2 separate regions of the Homo sapiens genome follow, and region 1 is linked to region 2. Evidence: promoter capture Hi-C in human tissues and cell types (Jung and others, 2019). All regions are on one chromosome and are shown on one strand. The core of a region is centred on a gene start or on the middle of the fragment in contact, and the rest is flanking DNA. Distances in the headings are between cores, read along the strand shown.

Region 1 (5,731 bases), core at 1,486-3,985, 760 kb before region 2:
GAGAATTTGCATCTTGGCCTCCATTGTCCCAACAGAGGGCTCTGGGCTCAGTCACTTGGGCTCCCCCTGCCCTTCGAGGCGCTGCCTAGAACCCGCACAGGGCCCTCTCCCATCTCCAACCTCTCAGAGGCAAGGCCGAAGATGGCCTCTGGAAGGGCCGGGGGCCTGGGAGGTGGGCAGGGCTGATCCAGGCAGGGCAGGTTTCCAGAGGAGGTGGTGAGTGGGGAGGAAGGGAGAAGTTTGGAGAGGACAGGAGGCCGAGGTTGAGACCAGCGGGGGTGGGTCGAGCCCTGGCTTGGGAACGCAGGGGGCTGATGGACTCAGGAGTGAGAGGAGGGGAGGCCCAGGCTGGCTGGCCACAGCAGCCCCTCGGGTGTGAGGAAGTCCACAGTCACTGAGCTCAGCCAGCAGCCCCTTGTCCACTTACCCTGACTCAGAATGACTGTGTCCCAAGGTTCATTCTCTGCAGACATGTGTCCCCTGGAATGCAGGGGCCCTGACGAGGAAGGCACTGCAACCCTCGGTTCACAGTGGGCTGCCTGGGGACCCTTGGACCCTCGCTGTTTGCCCTGGGCCACCGGCTCAGGTCCCCTAGAGCTCTGAGGAAAACACATGCCAGGGCCAGTGGGAGCCCTTGGGGCGGGCTGGGCAGTCACAGGTGTTAAAGCCCCTGATGATGTGACAGGCCTCCAGGCGGGGGCCCCACTGCCGGCACCTTCTGGCAAGGGTGGCCAGGCCTTGGTGAGGAGGCGAGTCCAGTGTCCAGGCCTGGCAGCCCCTCCTCAGAGAAGGGGCTGTATGTGACTCAAGAGGGCCAAGGGCATCCGAGCAGATGGCCCTGGGCTGGGCTCCCTACCCCAAGGCTGGCCCCCTCAGTCTGAGCCTGCGCTTTCCTCAGGTCCCAGAGGGTGGAAGGAGCCAGGACGCACCCCCACTGCTGCTGCAGGAGCCGCTGCTGAGCTGCGTGCCACATCGCTACGCCCAGGAGGTGAGCCGGCTCTGCCTCCTGCCTGCGGGCACCTACAAGGTTGTGCCCTCCACCTACCTGCCGGACACAGAGGGGGCCTTCACAGTGACCATCGCAACCAGGATTGACAGGTGGGGCTCTGGGACTTGGGGGCGGCCAGCTGGAGGCTGGGGTGCTGGAGTCTTAGTGCTCGCCTGTCCCCCCACGTCTCCTGCCTGCCCCTCACCCTCAAGCCCCTATCTGTCCTGGCAGACCAGGGCTGTCCTGCCTACCTGGGGACCCTTCCTTGCTGGTCTGAGCCTGGAAGGAGAGTCTAGTGGGAGGTGGGCCAGGAGCACACAGCCACTTGTGTGACAAGTGCAGTCTGGGAGCGCTGATCTGGTGTCTCTCCACAGGCCATCCATTCACAGCCAGGAGATGCTGGGCCAGTTCCTCCAAGAGGTGTGTATGCAGCCCCGCCAGCCCGGCTCACCTGCCTGGGGCTGCCTGGTGGCCTAGGGTCTACCTGCAACCTCAGGCAGGTGGTTTCTGCCTGGGACGTGAGGTGCCCTTGACTCTTCCTGTGAGAGCCCCGGGCGGTGCCTTGAAGGGCAGGGGGAGCTGAGGCTGCGTCCCATTCCCTGGCTGCACTCGGGGTGGGGTGTGAGAAGGGGCGAGTGCCACCGCTGCCCGGGCCCCCCATCTGTCTTTGCAGGTCTCCATCATGGCAGTGATGAAAACCTAACAGGGTGGCCCCCTGTGCCAGCTCAGGTGACTGGAGCCCGAGGGCCTGACAGGTTCCCAGCAGCTGGGCCGGCCAGCCTTGCACTGTGGGGGCTGGTCCTGAGTCTTGGCCTGCCTCCCAGCCCTGCCAGGAGGCTGCGGCCTAGGGGTCCACGGGAAGCCTCCGTCAGGAGAGACGCAGCCCTGGGGGCCAGCTGGTGCTGCAAGGAAGGGTGGGAAGCTTGCTGGCTTCTGTTGCGCCACTGAGACGGCAGAGACCCCAGGATCCCAGAGCTTCCCAGGATCCCTCCCAGATCCTCTGCTGACTCCATATGGAGGCCTCACACCCAGAGGGTAGGGCAGCAGATCTTCTTTATAACTATTTATTGTTCGAATCACTTTTAGGATGTAACTTTATAAATAAACATGAGCGCTGATGATTTGCAGATCAGTCTTGCTCCAGGTAGTTCCAGGCTGTGCCTGCTCTTGCCAAGCAGGCTGTGGGGAGGGCTGGGTGCCTGCCGAGATGGTGAGGATGAGGATGGCCTCTGGAGGGGCTGGGGGCCTGGGAGGTGGGCAGAGCCAACCCAGGCAGGGCAGGTTTCAGGGGGAGATGGTGAGTGGGGAGGAGGGGAGAAGTTTGGAGGGGCGGGCCCAGGGCATGCCCCAGGCCAGGGGGCTGAGGTTGAGGCTGGCCGGGGCAGGTCAAGCCCTGGTCTTGGGGGACACAGACTGATAGACTGGGGAGTGAGGGGTGGGGAGAGCCAGCGAAGGCACTGCCAAGGCTGTGGCGAAGAAGGACATCTCGGAAACGGGTGTTAGAACCGGAGTTGCGCAGAGGGAGGAACCCCAGGTTCACATGGACTGGGAGCCTTGGATCTGGACGGCTCCTCTGCCTCCAGCCAGGGTTCACCTGCGCAGTGTCCTAGGATTGTTTATTTCCCCAGGCCTCTCTCCCTCGTCCCTCACACCAAATGCTGTGATGAGAGCTGTAGTGTCACTGAACGGTGCAGAAGACAGTTCCAGACATGGGTGGGGAGGGCTGTCACTAAGCCCTTTTGTTTTAGAGACAGGGTCTTGCTCTGTTGCTCAGGCTGGAGTGCAGTGGCATGATCATAGCTCACTGCAGCCTCGACCTTCTGGGCTCAGGTGATCCTCCCTCTTCAGCCTCCCAGGTGGGTAGGAAAACAGGCGCACACTCCATGCCTGGTTAGTTTTTTCAAGTTTTGAATGCTTAGGGGTCTTAGTATGTGGTTGCCTAGGCTGGCCTCAGTGATCCTCCTGCCTTGGTCTCCCAAAGCACTAAGATTGCAGGCATGACCGCCAACCCCAGCTCTAATCCCTTTTAAATTCCATTCGCTTCCTGAGTCCCTTTGTGCCTGGGGAGACCCCGTGTATTGGTCCTTTTTCACATTGCTGTAAACAACTCTGAGACTGGTAATTTATAAAGAAAAGAGGTTTGATTGCCTCAGTTCCGAAGACTGTACAGGAAGCATGGCTGGGGAGGCCTCAGGAAACTTAGAATCATGGCGGAGGGAAAGCAGGCAGTCTGCAGGTGTCTGGAGAAGGAGGAAGAGAGCGAAGGGGAGGTGCTGTGCACTTTTAAATGACCAGATCTTAGGAGAACTCACTATCACCAAAACAGCAAGGGGGATATCCGCTCCCATGATCCAATCATCTCCCACCAGGCTCCTCCAACACTGGGGATTATAATTCGACATGAGATTTGGGCAGGAACACAAATTCAAACCATAGCACCCAGTGAGCCTGATTTGGGCCTTGCTGCCGGATCACGACCATCTCTGGAGTCCTGGTGTCTGTTCCCACTGGGACCTGTGCCGCTGTCCCCCTCTCCACGCCCTGGCCACGCCAAGCCACCCTCCTGACTCACCCACAGGAAGCTGCCCTGGCCCTGGAGCCTGCCCCGTGAGCCCCTCTGCTTGCTGGTTCAATGGCCCTCCAGCAGCAGTGGCTGTGGCAGCTGGGTTCTCGGCATCTTCAGACACGGATTCTTGAGCAGCAGGATGGGGCTCCATCTCCCTGCGTGCAGAGCCTGCCACAGATCTCCCTCATCCACTGGCTTCTGTGCTGACTTCGGATGAAGCCAGTGGTGCCGCCTATTGGGGTACAGCAACTCAGGGCGAACAGTGAGGGGCGGCTCACCAAAGAAATACCCCGCAGGGCAGTGCCCAAGCCAGAGGCTTGAGCTGGGTCGGAGCTGCCCTAGATCCCTGGGTTTGTGGGCGGACAGGTCCTGTGCAGGGCGCCTGATGGTGCAGGTTGAGGTGGGACAGTTGGGGTCAAGGTATTTCTCAGGCACAGTGCCTATGAAGGGAAGACAGTTGCAGGGACTGTGTCCATGTCAGGATAGACTGGTGGGGACCCCGTGAAGAGTTCTGGAGCAAACCCTGCCTGCAGGGCCCCACCTGGGCTGGCCAGGCCCTTATGTTGAGCATCCCTTCCCCCAGGCCCTCAGGAGCCACTGTCCCCGAGGCAGGCCCTGAAGGTGGCGGCCACACCCTCCTGCTGGGCAGCTCTGCCCAAAGGCCACAGCCAGGACCTGCTTCCCGCGTCCCAGGCTACTGCCTGAGAGGAGGCCTCGAAAGCGCAGGGTTCCGTGACTTTAGAGGCCATGGTTGGCACCCATCATCGCCCCAGTGTAGATTGGCTCCACTCGACCTGGCTGCTTTGGCCATTTGGTCTACCAGCTGGAACCATGTTCCTGGGTGTGGAAAACGCTCCCTCCGAAGCCTGCGGAGAGCCCTGAGGCCTTGTGCTTCCTTCTGATGGGAGGTTCCAGATGCAGTTGGAGGGGATGTCTGGCAGGGCTCTAACCCCCAGCCAACCTAAACATTTCTGGTGCAGAAGGCCCCGGCCTGGTGTTGTTTGTCCCTGGCTGCCTCCTGCTCTGACACCATCAGCATCCTGTTGCCAAGGTCATGGATCAGTGCGGTGCTCTTCAGGGTGTCCGGCCAGCTGGGGTCTCTGTCCTGTATTCCGGCAGAGGCCCCAGGAGAAACAGCAAATGCCTTTGTCCATTCCATACAAATTTCATATAAATGTGAGCAGCTTCTGATCTTCCGTGGCGTATTCGTCCAGTTGATGGCCAACCCTGGGTACCTGGACCTCCAGGACCTGCTGCACTGGGCTGCCCCTCGGCTGTGTGTGCACTCGCCACGTGGCCCTCCAGGAATCCCATCCCACGGGGCCACACTGAACCAAATGGAGAGAGCAGGGCCACCACCCTCTCTCCGCATGCCACGGCTGCTCTGGGACCCGGGCAGGAGGGGACAGTCTTGGCCTTCCAGTGTCCCTCTTGGCCTTCCCACGGCCATCTCTACCCCAAGGATGCAGCAGAGATATCGGTCGCTCCCCAGGTGTCAATCCCAGTCACAGGCTCAGAGACCGGGACATGGCCCCGGGTGGGTCTGTAGGCCCTGTGGGCTCATGTGAGCTGGTCCTGGGCAGGACTCCATTATTAACTGCCTGTGATGTGTCCCACTGTCATGGAGCCCTGGTGACTCTTGGGGACCAGCATCAGCTTGGGGCCTGTGTGCTCAGTGGCTCCCAGATGCCTGGATATTCTCTTCCTGGTGCACATAGTCCCCGGGGAGGTCCTTGTCATGCACACTTGCTGATGTGGGGAGTGTCCTTCATCTTGCAGGCCTGGCCACCTCTTCAGTCAGCAGATACCTGGGCTGAAAACCGACTCGGGCAGTGTGGGCCCAACTGGGGCTCTATCGGAGTGACCACCCTCAGCCCTCCTGGACCCCTCTGCCGGCTCCACCTGAGCGCTGCCCTCGCTGGCAGCCCTGCCTTGCTCTGCTGCCATTCCGTAAGCCCTGCAGGCAGGCCCCTTGGCGCCCTTCAGCCGTGTTCATGATTGTCTCCTGGCCTCTGCTGTTTAGAGGTCTAATGCCCTCCGCCCCCGGCGAGCCAAACCCAGTGATGGTGGTTCCTGCCACCAGCTTCCTGTGGCACCGCTGCCACTCCCGCCAGGCTCCTGGGGCACCGCCACCACTCCCGCCAGGCTCCTGGGGCACCGCCGGCCACTCCCGCCAG
Region 2 (6,007 bases), core at 1-2,500:
CACAGCACCATAGGAGGAGTCTCTTAAGTGCCCGGGTGTTTCCTGAAGTTAATTATTCCCTCAACAGCCACATGGTGACAGTGGGTGACAGGGCCGGGCTAGGAGAGCACGATGGGTAGGGTCTTGAAGAACACATAGGAGTTCAATGAACTTCTCAAGAGAAGGGAAGTGTGCCACAGCAAGTCAGTCTTCCATTCTCGGGTGGGGGTCCCTAGGCCAGAGGAAGGCCGTCCTGGCCGCCACCACGGAGCAGCCTGTCTCAGCCTTAGCACAGCCTCGCGCGATCCTTCGATGATCCCCTTCGGTCCCTGTAGTCCCACGAGGGATGCAATGCGTTGGAGGAAGGAGGAGGCTGGCAGCCAGGGACTGAGCCAAAGGGTGCAAGGACAGCCGGCAAGGCCCGGGCCAAGACCTATCCCCGCCCAGCGAGCCAGGCCTCGCCCAGCACCTATCCGCGCCCAGCAAGCCTAGGCCTCGCCCAGCACCTATCCGCGCCCAGCAAGCCTAGGCCTCGCCCAGCACCTATCCGCGCCCAGCGAGCCTAGACCTCGCCCAAGACCTAGCCCCGCCCAGCGAGCCGACTCCCCGCCCAGGACCTAGCCCCGCCCAGCGAGCCGACTCCCCGCCCAGGACCTAGCCCCGCCCAGCGAGCCGACTCCCCGCCCAGGACCTAGCCCCGCCCAGCGAGCCGACTCCCCGCCCAGGACCTAGCCCCGCCCAGCGAGCCGACTCCCCGCCCAGGACCTAGCCCCGCCCAGCGAGCCGACTCCCCGCCCAGGACCTAGCCCCGCCCAGCGAGCCGACTCCCCGCCCAGGACCTAGCCCCGCCCAGCGAGCCGACTCCCCGCCCAGGACCTAGCCCCGCCCAGCGAGCCGACTCCCCGCCCAGGACCTAGCCCCGCCCAGCGAGCCGACTCCCCGCCCAGGACCTAGCCCCACCCAACGAGCCGACTCCCCGCCCAAGATCTAGCCCCGCCCAGCGAGCCTTGGCTTCGCCTAGGACATTGCCTCGCTCAGCAAGCCGACGCCCCGCCCAACGAGCCGAGCGCTGCACAGATTTATATCCTACGCAGCTGCCTGCCTGCTCCCGCCCCTTCTCCGTCCGTTCACCAATCAGAACTCGATCTTGCGCTTTCAGGCCGCGGGACGGGAAGGCTCCGCCCTGGCGCCCCGCAGGCCAATCGACTGCGCGTCCGCGTCGCGGGGGCGGGGTCAGGGCGGGGCGCGCTGCGCGGGGGCTGCCGGCGGGCAGTTGGGAGCAGGCGACGCCGACGCGAGTCTGGCGGCTGCTGCTTGCGACTGCGGAGGCCGGGCGAGGCCGGTGAGGACGCGGCGGGCGAGCGAGAGGCCGAGGGTGAGGACGTGAAGCGGCCTGGGCGCGTGGGGCAGGGGTGGGCCTCTCCGGGTGGGCGGCGAAGCCCGAGGCCCGAGGCGAGAGGCCCAGGCGGGGGGGGCGCTGAGGCCGCGGTCCACCAGAGATGGTCCCGCCCGGCCTCTGAAGGCCATCGTGAGGCGGCTGGAGCTCCTAGGCGGGTCCGGGTTAGAGGAGCGTCCGTCTGTAGGGAGCCTGCCGCGTGGGGGCAGGCGGGGCGGTGGGCCGGGGAGTGGCCCGCGTGGACTCCCGGGTTGAGGGGTGCCGCGTGGAGGAGGCCGGTGGGGCTGTAGACCGGGGAGTGTCCCGCGTGGACTCGCGGGTTGAGTTGTGCCCCGTGGAGGCCGGCAGGGCCGTGGGCCGGGGAGTGTCCCATCCCGGAAGGACACCCCAGAGTGGGCCATAGGGACCCGCAGGGTATGGGCCTGGAGGTGCCTGGTGGAGGCATTTTGAGCCGTTTGCCTTTTTAGCATTTCTTTAAATTGTATCTTAAAGGTGGGAATCAAGTGTTAGGTGTTAATATTTTTACTCCACTAAGGGCTAGAAATACTCATAAGCCAGTGGGTAGCCTTTGGGAAACCCATGAAAACTGGGGACCAGAATATGGCCCAGTACATTACACACCCGAATTACGGGCACCTTTTCCGTTTACGCTATGGCAGCAACCCCTGGCCTATCATGTGCCATTAATGGATGTGAAAAGCAGAAATTAGAACAAGGCATCATTGAAGGAAAGATTGTCAATACATAGTGTTAAAAAGGGATGGGCAAATTTAAAACCCAAGGCCAAATCTTTAAAGGGTGGTTTTTCTCTCTGGGTTTTTGTTTTTGTTTTGTTTCCGTGGGATATTTTTGTCTGGGCCACTGTGTAAATGTTTGATAACCCTGAGGTGGCAGTGGGTTAGCGTGTTGGTCTTGTGTAGACTGCCTTATAACAGGCGACACAGATTTTCTCAGTACCAGAGAGATGGGAGAGGACATTTGAGGTAGGGAAGCATGGAGTAACCTTTACTTGTAGGCCAAATATAATTTAAATTTTCTACATCTGCTTGTTGAAAGTTTTGTTTTGTTTTGTTTTTTGAGGTCCTTAAAGGTTTAGGAAGCACTTCATGCTCGTTATTTATTCAGTTTTCCAAAACTCTTCAGAGACATGACCAAGTTGCACAGCCCCGTTTTAAAGTAGAGGAAAGGGAGGTTGAGAGAGGTGGAATGACCAGTTTAGGGTCACACCTAGGGTACTTGCAAATACCATCTGTACTTCTCATGTGCCCTATCCTTGTTGCAGATTCTCATTAGGTGGTTCACTGTTAACAAACTAAATGCTGATGATGCAGTTTCCTGGACTGCAGACGTTTGCTGGCTTATTTACCTATAGGACTATCAGTCGTTAGTAAATTTCCAGGTTCCTTGTATACTAATTCCTTTCCCAAAGAGGAAGTTGATATAAGGTGTATTCATTTCTCTCTGCCTCAGGTTCCTTATTCAAAAAATGAGTTTAAAATTTACTTGGCCAGGCACAGTGGCTGTAATCCCAGCACTTTGGGAGGCCGAGGCAGGCAGATTGCATGAGCTCAGGGGTTCCAGACCAGCCTGCTCAACAGGGCGAAACCCCATCTCTACTAAAAATACAAAAATTAGCTGGGCTGGTGGCGCACGCCTGTAATCATAGCTACTTGAGAGGCTGAGGCACGAGAATCACTTGAACCCAGGAGGTGGAGGTTGCATTGAGCCAAGATTGTGCCACTGCACTTCATCCTGGGCGACAGAGCGAGACTCTGTCTCAAAAAAATAAAAAAATAAATAAAAAAAGCTGTGTTAACAAGATGCCTGGCACAAGGTAAGTGCTTAATAAATGTTAGCCATTATTATTATCAGGTGGACAAATAATCCGAGTAGAAAGTAGAACAAGCTAACCCTGGATATTTACAAAAAACAGTAGAGAAAAAATTAGGCAATAATTAAGCAAATTTATCCTGTTTAGAGGGAATGGTATGAACTGGATTGCCAAAGCAAAGATCAATGCATGGGCAATTCCATGTGAGCTCATTTAAATCCATTTGGCCCAAAGAATTCAGTTGCTTCCTTCCTTTCCAAACACCCCTGCTTCTAGTCACATCAATACCTCTTCTATATTCGGACAGTAACAGATTTTTCTTACTGCTGCTTGTCCTTTCAGTTTTGTTCTTATTTTTCCTTCACCCACTTTCATATCAGCTTGCCAGCTTCCCCTTTACTCAGTGCGTCATGAGCTTCATAAACACAGCATAGTGCTAGATATACAGGCAAAACCCCATTGTAGTGTTGGATACTGAGCTGAGGTAATTCCGGTCATGTTCTCTGAGATCAGAATATAGAGTCCTTTGACCATAGCGTATTTGTCAATGCCACAGGGAGTTGAAAAGTTGAGGATCCTACAAAGCAATATGATAAAGCCCAGTCTTTGGTGATTTTCTGGGGAGCGTTTAGTTGACAGTGATTCTATAAATTGGTCTAATCTTTTTGGAAAGTAGCAGTATGTGGCAAAGATTTTGATTTTGGAATCACACTTTTCAAAACAATCTGATAAACTTTGTTGTGTCAGTAGGGTAGAGTACTCCATAGCAAGTAAACATGCTTCCACAAGCTGAATCCCATCCTCCCATCCAAGGAAAATTTGAACCATTTTGATCCATGGAAATATGCTTTAAAATGTGACTTAACTGAAAAGTTGAAATGGTGTGTACACAGCAATCATAGTGTTGTAAAAATACATGAGGAGGTGAACAGGATCAGGAGGGTAGTTAGAGTGTTGTAAGTGGTTTTATTTTAAGAGTCATGAATTGTTTTCCCCTAAACTGGTGTTTTAGCTTATTGCCATTTTAAAATTCAAAAACAAAAAGGCCCTATAATGTTGTAGGATGCAGTGATGAATCTTGCTTAATCCCATCTTTCCCCTTCCCCGCCCATCCTCCTGATTGCTTCCCAAAATGAAAATGTGGTCATGTCCTATCCCAGCTGCAAAACCTACTTTGGTATGAGATTCCAACCAGTTGGCCCACTAGAGCTCGCGCAGCACAACCCCAGGCCACCTCCCCACCTCCCCTCGGGTGTCTCAGCCCAACTATACTCATCCTTTCCCAGCTGCTCCTGCAGTTTCTATGTAGTCCTCTGCCTGTGCACACACTATGTCCTTTGTCCACCTGGTCTCCTGTTCCCCTGTGAGGAAAGCTGCTCCAGGTCAGGCTAGCCAGCGGTGCTGCCTCTTTCTTTCTGCTCTCTCTGTGACTGCAGTGGGCAGGTAGTACTGGTTACTTTCTCAGTCGTCTCCCTTTCTGAATTAAACTTCTGTATCTTTGTGTGCTCTGTGCACACCATGCAATCACGATGGGGTTGAGGCCGCTTGTGGAGCTGAGTGACTGCTAACAAATCACTAACCTTTCTGAGCCTGAGTTCCTTGATGCCAGCTGCACATGGTTATTGTGAGGATTAAATGAGATGACATAAGCGAAGGGCTTGACATGCATCTCCTTGCAGTGGTGGTCATACAGGACACGGTAGCTGTTGTAATGTGTACCAGTGCATTTTTGAGGCCTTGTCTTGGACCTTGTCCTCTTGATGAAGCCTCCTCCCTGTCTCCCTCCAGCTGCCAACTTCCTCTCTACCACCCTCACTTTACTCACTCCAAGGCACTTAAATCACCATTTAATATATATTAGGTACTCTCTTCTTTGTATTTGTCCACTATATAGGGGGGAATTTTTCTCTCTTAGGAACTCCTGTATCCCTAAGCATTTAGACTTGCCTGAAACAGAATAGAGCTCAATAAATATTTGAATGAATTAATCAGATTTCTTCTGAGGCAGAGGTAGATGCCAGGTTTTATGGAGCTTGAAGGTATACAATTTGGGGGAAGGGGAGAACTCTTTAAGAGAAAGAATGCAAAGTTACAAATAAAAACTAATTTAGAAAGTGAGGCTGGGAGCGGTGGCTCACGCCTGTAATCATAGCACTTTGGGAGGCCGAGGTGGGTGGATCACGAGGTCAAGAGATGGAGAGGCAGGTGGATCACAAGGTCAAGAGATGAAGACCATCCTGGCTAACACAGTGAAACCCCCCGTCTCTACTAAAAATACAAAAAATGAGCCAAGTGTGGTGGCATGTGCCTGTATTCCCAGCTTCTCAGGAGGCTGAGGCAGGAGAATCACTTGAACCCGAGAGGTGGAGGTTGCAGTGAGCCGTGATCACGCCACTGCACTCCAGCCTGGGTGACAGAGCGAGACTCTGTCTCAAAAAAAAAAAAAAAAAGTGAATATTTAGAATGAGAACGTAACAAATTTGAAAAAGCTGATGAATAATGCAAATGGCTAAATTGAGAAAAATAACGTTTGTTAATTATCTAACACACCTGTGTAATATTTCTTCCTTTGGCTGTGTACTTTTTAATCACATTTTCATATGACAGGATATAGAAAGAACTCAGTGATTCCTCTAGCACAGTAGATAAATTTTTATTGTTGATAGGGTACATAAAACTTATGGTTTCACATAGACGTATTTGCTGTTTCTAGTACTGCTACAGGTTGGTGTCCCAGAAAAACAGGTGTTCAGGTAAATCCTGTTTCGCACAATTCCATTCAAAAAAGAAAAAAAAAAAAA

What was found. The method cuts DNA at HindIII sites, captures the fragments that hold promoters and counts their contacts. A contact is called where the count stands out against the background at its distance.
Region 1: a contact is called between a fragment that was not itself captured here and the fragment with the promoter of FARP2 in region 2, in 1 of the 25 tissues and cell types used here (dorsolateral prefrontal cortex).

The regions. Positions count from the first base shown.
Region 1 is chr2:240,596,990-240,602,720 of GRCh38, forward strand. CAPN10 (calpain 10) reads left to right here. Exons shown (of 12, transcript NM_023083.4): 10 at 899-1,098; 11 at 1,363-1,408; 12 at 1,662-2,115. The coding sequence ends at 1,691. Among named protein-coding and RNA genes, the nearest start is that of CAPN10, 13 kb to the left of the region's middle. The HindIII fragment of the contact is 8,272 bases long and covers 1-5,731 here.
Region 2 is chr2:241,355,035-241,361,041 of GRCh38, forward strand. FARP2 (FERM, ARH/RhoGEF and pleckstrin domain protein 2) reads left to right here and starts at 1,251. Exons shown (of 27, transcript NM_014808.4): 1 at 1,251-1,354. LOC105373973 (a long non-coding RNA gene) reads right to left here. Exons shown (of 3, transcript XR_924066.2): 3 at 5,844-5,966. RefSeq lists a silencer at 1,039-1,588. The HindIII fragment of the contact is 18,573 bases long and covers 1-6,007 here.